Linked DNA regions of Homo sapiens: region 1 is linked to region 2. Evidence: promoter capture Hi-C in 16 types of primary human blood cells and fetal thymus (Javierre and others, 2016). All regions are on one chromosome and are shown on one strand. Each heading gives the region's core, a stretch centred on a gene start or on the middle of the fragment in contact. The rest is flanking DNA. Distances are from core to core; before and after follow the strand shown.

Evidence for each region. Contacts are between HindIII fragments. The CHiCAGO score rates a contact against its expected background, and 5 or more counts as called.
Region 1: a fragment that was not itself captured here is called in contact with the fragment with the promoter of MOGAT1 in region 2 in 1 of 17 cell types (monocytes); the score reaches 6.1 in monocytes.

The regions. Positions count from the first base shown.
Region 1 is chr2:223,463,098-223,466,096 of GRCh38, reverse strand. No RefSeq gene overlaps it. Among named protein-coding and RNA genes, the nearest start is that of SCG2, 140 kb to the left of the region's middle. The HindIII fragment of the contact is 1,901 bases long and covers 753-2,653 here.
Region 2 is chr2:222,670,185-222,673,280 of GRCh38, reverse strand. MOGAT1 (monoacylglycerol O-acyltransferase 1) reads right to left here and starts at 1,623. Exons shown (of 6, transcript NM_058165.3): 1 at 1,402-1,623. The coding sequence starts at 1,495. LOC124907985 (a long non-coding RNA gene) reads right to left here. Exons shown (of 2, transcript XR_007088095.1): 2 at 2,279-2,645. The HindIII fragment of the contact is 3,409 bases long and covers 437-3,096 here.

The DNA of each region.
Region 1 (2,999 bases), core at 454-2,953, 790 kb before region 2:
ATGGCCATTGCTCTTCTGGTCAGTTTGACCTTTTCTGTTACCCTTGGTGCAGCAGGGGAAGTGCTGGTTCTCAGAGGCATGCACATGAGTCAATTTGGAGGCACCGAGCCATGAGGTTTTCCTATTGCACAAGTTCCCTGGCACAGAAGACCTAGCTTTGCCTCTTTCATCATCACCCCCAACTGTTATCCCCAGAGTCACACTCCACAGCCTCTTGCCTCACCTCCCAGGGTTTCTGGCTTGCAGAAAGACACTTCGTGCCTAATTGTCTTCTGCAGTTGTATTAGTCTGTTCTCACACTGCTAATACAGACATACCCAAGACTGACTAATTTATAAAGGAAAGAGGTTTAATTGACTCACAGTTCCACATGGCCGGGGAGGCCTCACAATCATGGTGGAAGGCGAATGAGGAGCAAAGGCACATCTTACATGACAGCAGGCAAGAAGGCTTGTGCAGGGGAACCTCCATTTATAAAACCATCAGATCTCATGAGACTTATTCCCTACCACGAGAACAGTAGGGGGGAGACTGCTCCCATGATTCGATTATCTTCACCTGGCCCTGCCCTTGTTATGTGGGGATTATTACAATTCAAGGTGAGGTTTGGGTCGGGACACAGCCAAACCATATTAGCAGTTCTGGTTAATCCACAGAAAAGGTTCAGGCTGCTCCCTTTCTCCAGCTTGCCATTGATCTCTAATTTTCTTATCCTCTGGTAGGACAGACAATGGGTCTGAGTAGCCTAAGCTTATGTCCAATTTGAAACTGATGCTACCCCTTCTATAGGCACTGCAAATATTGATGAATGGATAAAGAATGGCACTCCAGATACTTATGAATGGATATTTATGAATGGATACTTATGAATGGAGAGCTGTTTCTTCCAGCTTTTCTGTGGTAGAGAGAATAATTCTTTCCTTCCTCCTTACAAAGACATCCATATCCTAATCTACAGAACCTTTGAATATGTTATATCACGTGGTAAGTAGGAATTAAGGTTGCTACTCAGCTGACCTTAAAATAAGGAGAGTATCCTGGATTATCTGGCAGACCTAGTGTAATCACAAAGGTCCTTAAATGTGGAAGAGGGAGGCAGGGTAACTAGTGTCAGAGCAGTGGAATGTGAGAAAGACTTGACTGGCTGTTGCAGGTTCTGAAGGTGAAGAAAGGGCCCATGGACCAGGGAATGTGGGCAGCTTGTAGAAGCTGGAAAAGGCAAGTAAATAGATATTCCCCTAGAGCCTCCAGAATGCAATGCAGCTCTGCCAACACCTTGATTTCAACCCAGTGGACCCATCTTAGACTTCTGACCTCCAGAACTGTAAGGTAATACATTTGCATTGTTTTAAGCCACTAATTTTGTGGTTGGTTGTTACAGCAGGAATGGTAAACTAATACACTCTCTTTTAGTTTGCAGGGAGAATGGATATAATCCCCTCCCAAAAGCTATGCAATTTCCTATAGGTGGGGTAAAGGCCCAGGATTCCATATGCTTTTCTCTTCTTTATCCTCTGGCCTCAAGTTCTCTCATGTTTATCTCCTAGAGAGGTGTATTAGTCTGGTCCCACATTGCTATGAAGAAATACCTGAGATTGGGTAATTTATAAAGAAAAGAGGTTTAACTGGCTCATGGTGATATAGGCTGTACAGGAAGCATGGTGCTGGCATCTGCTCAGCTTCTGAGGAGGCCTCATGAAACTTACCATCACAACAGAAGGTGAAGGAGAAGCCAGCACTTCACATGGCTGGAGCAGAAGGAAGAGAGAGAGGGTGGGGGAGGTGCTGCACATTTTTAGACAACCAGCTCTTGTGAGAACTGACTCACTATACAGTACCAAGGAGGGACGGTGCCAAACCATTCATGAGAACTCTAACCCCATGATCCAGTCACCTCCCACCAGGACCACCTCCAACACTGGAGATTACAATTACACATGAAATCTGGTAAGGAAACAGATCCGAACCATATAATTCTATCTCTGCCCCCCAACTCTAAAATCTCATGTCCCTCTCATTGTGAAATACAATTATGCCTTCCCAACAGTCCCCCAAAGTCTTAACTCATTCCATCATTAACATAAAAATCCAAACTCAAAAGTCTCATCTGAGACAAGGCAAGTCTGTTCCACCTATGAGCCTGTAAAACCAAAAACAAGTTAGTTACTCCCAAGACATAATGGGAGTACAGGCATTAAGAAATAATCCCATTCCAAAAGGGAGAAATTCACCAAAAGAAAGTGGCTACAGGCCCCATGCAAGCCTGAAACCCAGCAGGGCCATTATTATATCTCAAAGCTCCACAATAGTCTCCCTTGACTCCATATCTCACATACAGGGCACACTGGTGTAAGGGGTGGGCTCCCAAGGTCTTGGGCATCTCTGTCCATGAGGCTTTGCAGGATTCAGCTCCTGTGGTTAATCGCAAGGGCTGGTGTTGAGTGCCTGAGGCTTGTCCAGGTGCAGGGGGCAAGCTGTCAGTAGATTGTGACAGACCCCGTTGTGGGGTCTGGAGGATGGTGGCCCTCTTTTCACAGCTCCAAATGGCAGTGCCCCATTGGAGACTCTGTATGGGGGCTCCAACCCCTCATTTCCCCTCTGTGCTGCCCTAGTAGAGGTCCTCCATAAGGGCTTCGGCCTGGACATCCAAGCTTTTTCATACATCTTCAGAAATCTAGGCTTCCAAGCCTCAGCTATGACACTCTGCATGCCCAAAGGCTTACTACCACGTGGAAGCTGCCAAGGCCTATGGCTTTCACCCTCTGAAGCAGTGGCACGAGCTGTACCTGGGCCCCTTTTAACTCCAGCTGGAGCTGAAGTAGCTGGGATGCAGGGAGCAGTGTCCCAAAGCTGTGCAGGGCAGTAGGGCCCTGGGCCTGGCCCACTAAACCAAACTTTCCTCCTAGGTTTCTTAGCCTGTGGTGGGAGGGGCTGCCTAGAAGGTCTCTGAAATGTCTTCAAGGCCTTCTCCCCATTGTCTATTAGCACTTGGCTCCTCT
Region 2 (3,096 bases), core at 374-2,873:
GAAAAAGGAAAAAAAAAAAGGTGTACAGACTTCATTCTGAAACAAATGACTTAGAAATTCCAGGGATGAGCCGGGCGCGGTGGCTCACGCCTGTAATCCCAGCACTTTGGGAGGCTGAGACAGGCGGATCACCTGAGATTGGGAGTTCGAGACCACCCTGACCAACATGGAGAAACCCCGTCTCTACTAAAAAGACAAAATTAGCCAGATGTGGTGGCACATGCCTGTAACCCCAGCTACTCGGCAGGCTGAGGCAGAAGAATTACTTGAACCCGGGAGGCGGAGGTTGTGGTGAGCCGAGATGGCGCCACTGCACTCCAGCGTGGGCAACAAGAGTGAAACTCCGTCTCAAAGATAATAATAATAATAATAATAATAATAATAATAATAAACAAATTCCAGGATGGAGCCTGGGCATCTGCACTTTTTAGAAGCTTCTCCAGTGATTCTCATCTAGAGCCAGGGTTGAGAACCACTGATTCAGGCTTTCGAAATGTAAAAGCAGTTTTAAAAGTGTAAAACTCTCCAATGCAATGGGCTTATTACTATTATTACCACCCCAACGCTGTACAATCCATGATCTTACAGCATACACATGATCTTAGTCTTCAGAAGAGTTTATGTTTCAATAGAAGGGTCTCCCCCAAATTCCTCCCTCCTCCCACATCACCCCTATTTACTTCAAGAGCAGAACAAATATGAAGGAAAAAACAAAAAACAAAAAGAAAAACCACCCACGTTTTTGCCCCATCTAATGATTCGGCTCGTGTATGTTTCATGGGCTCAACTTGGGAACCAACTGGAACACACACGCTACTGAGTCAAACTATTTCCAGAGAGAAACCGCTCAACCAAATGCAATGAGTGGTGCAGCCTTCTTTACAGAAAGGTACTGCTATGCATCCAGGAAATCTCCAAAACGGGAAAGGGAACACTGCTCTTTGTCAGGAGGGTGGGGAGACAAAGAGGGAGAAGGAACAAGGTTTTAACTACTGAGGCATTACTTTGCCATCTATGAATCAACAGTTCGAGAAACGAGTTTGCCAACTTTTGAGGGGTTAAAGTGCTCATGCGTTCGATGGGGTCATGGTTACATTTTGGTAGATACAGTCGCCAAAAGTCATCGAGCTGTATCCGTATAACTGCGCCTTTTATTGTAGGCAAGGTGCACCTCAATTTAAAAAAGTAACGCAGGAGAAAATAAAATTAAACAGTCGTTAGCGATGAGGTTCTCGTGAGGAAACCAGAGTCCACGTTAGCTCCAAATGCCCTCTTTGACCTGCCTGCTCTGGCCGACAGGGGAACGAGGGTTGGAAGGTTCTATGCAGGTCCTGGAATCCGGACCGTCCCGAGGGAGGATATGGAGCCCAAGCCCCGCGGCCCGGGGGGCGGGGTCCTTACCGAGCAGCAGGTATTTCAGGACCCACTGCAGCACGGCCACCGTCTGCAGCCGCCGCGCCAGCTGGATGTTGAGCGGTGCAAACTCTACCTTCATGGCCTGGCCGGGCGAGGACGGCGCCAGCCACTGCAGCCTGCACCCACGCTGCTCTGCGGCGCCTGTGGGAAGTGCCCGGCCGGATCCGGGCCCCGCGCTGGGCACTGGCTGGGCGGAGAGGAAAAGGCAGAGGCTAGGCAGCGAGCGGGGACCCAACTGCGCCCTGGGTGGGAGGGCGCGCTGGGCTGAGGCTGGGGGCAGCCAATCACAAGCGCCGGGCGCCAGAGCTGGCCCAGCGCCCTGGCCCCGGAGCAGCTACAGCGGCCCGGGCGCATTGGCTGGCGCGCCGGGCGTTGGCGAGAGTGCGCCGCGTGGGACACGAGGGACGGGGAGAGGGGTCAACTGGCAGCCAGCCCGAGCCGGGCAGCGCGGGCTCCTGCCGCCTGGCTGAGGACCTGGGATCTCCACCAGGATCTGACCATTGTTCAGCTGATCGATCACCCAGCGCTTGCCTTCAGCATCCCACCCCTTCATTCGAACCCTCGGTGATTGGGGAAGGGTTAGTTTGAGGAATCGCACACCAGCTGGAGAGATGAGCGAGACTTGTTTCTTAGTTTATTGATCTGTGTCCCCCCGCAACCTCCAATTTCCCCGCGGATGGGGAAGGGGACCTGGCTTCCTCACTCTTGGGTCCTCAGTTCCCTACAGGAGCTCCGGGAATCTTTCACCCATTCATTCATTCAACCCACATTTATTGAGCACTTGCCACTTGCTGAGCACCATCCGGGCGCTTGGATAACCAAGCTGTCAAGCGCATCCGTGTGAAGAGACCACCAACAGGCATTGTGTGAGCAACAAGGCTGTTTATTCACTTAGGTGCAAGTCAGCTGAGTCCGAAAAAGAGTCAGCGAAGGGAGATGGGGAAGGGGTTGCTTTATAGGAGTTGTCTAGGTAATGGAAAATTACAGTAGAAGGTGGTTATCTATTGTTAGCAGAGGAAGGGGTCACAAGGTACAGGGTGGGGAGATCATAAGACTCATTGTCCAGAAGAAGAATGTCACAAAGTCGATTGATCGGCTAAGGTAGGGCAGGGACAAGTCACAATGGTAAAATGTTGTAATGTTGGTTAATCAGTTAAGGCAGGAACTGGCTGTTTTACTTCTTTGCGTTTTTTTTGGCTGCTCCAGGCTTCTTGGCTCCTGCAGGCCACCTGGATGTGTACATGCAGGTCACAGAGGTTATAATGGCTGAGCTTTGGCTCAGAGGCCTGACACAAGCTATTCATTGTCTTGTTCTCAGAGTACAGGGGGAAACAGACATAAGCAAAACAACTACACAATTTGGTGTATAATTACAAGTAAGACCCTACTGTGAATGACTAGAAGATTCCAAAACCAAGACTGCTGCACGGTCAGGGAAGTGTCTGAAGAAGTGCCCTTACTTGAGCTGTAGCCAAATCTAGTTAACCCAGGAGTCATCCGGGCAAAGGGAAGCACATATGCAAAGGTCCTGTGGCTGAACTCCAAGAAGAGCTCAAAGAGTGAGAGCTTGGGGGACAAGGGTGAGATTGGGGTGACATCAGGCAAAAATGGTGGGCAAGGTCCAGACCCTTGCAGACTGAGTTAGGGTTCAAGTTTGAACCCCAAGAGCAGTACAAGACA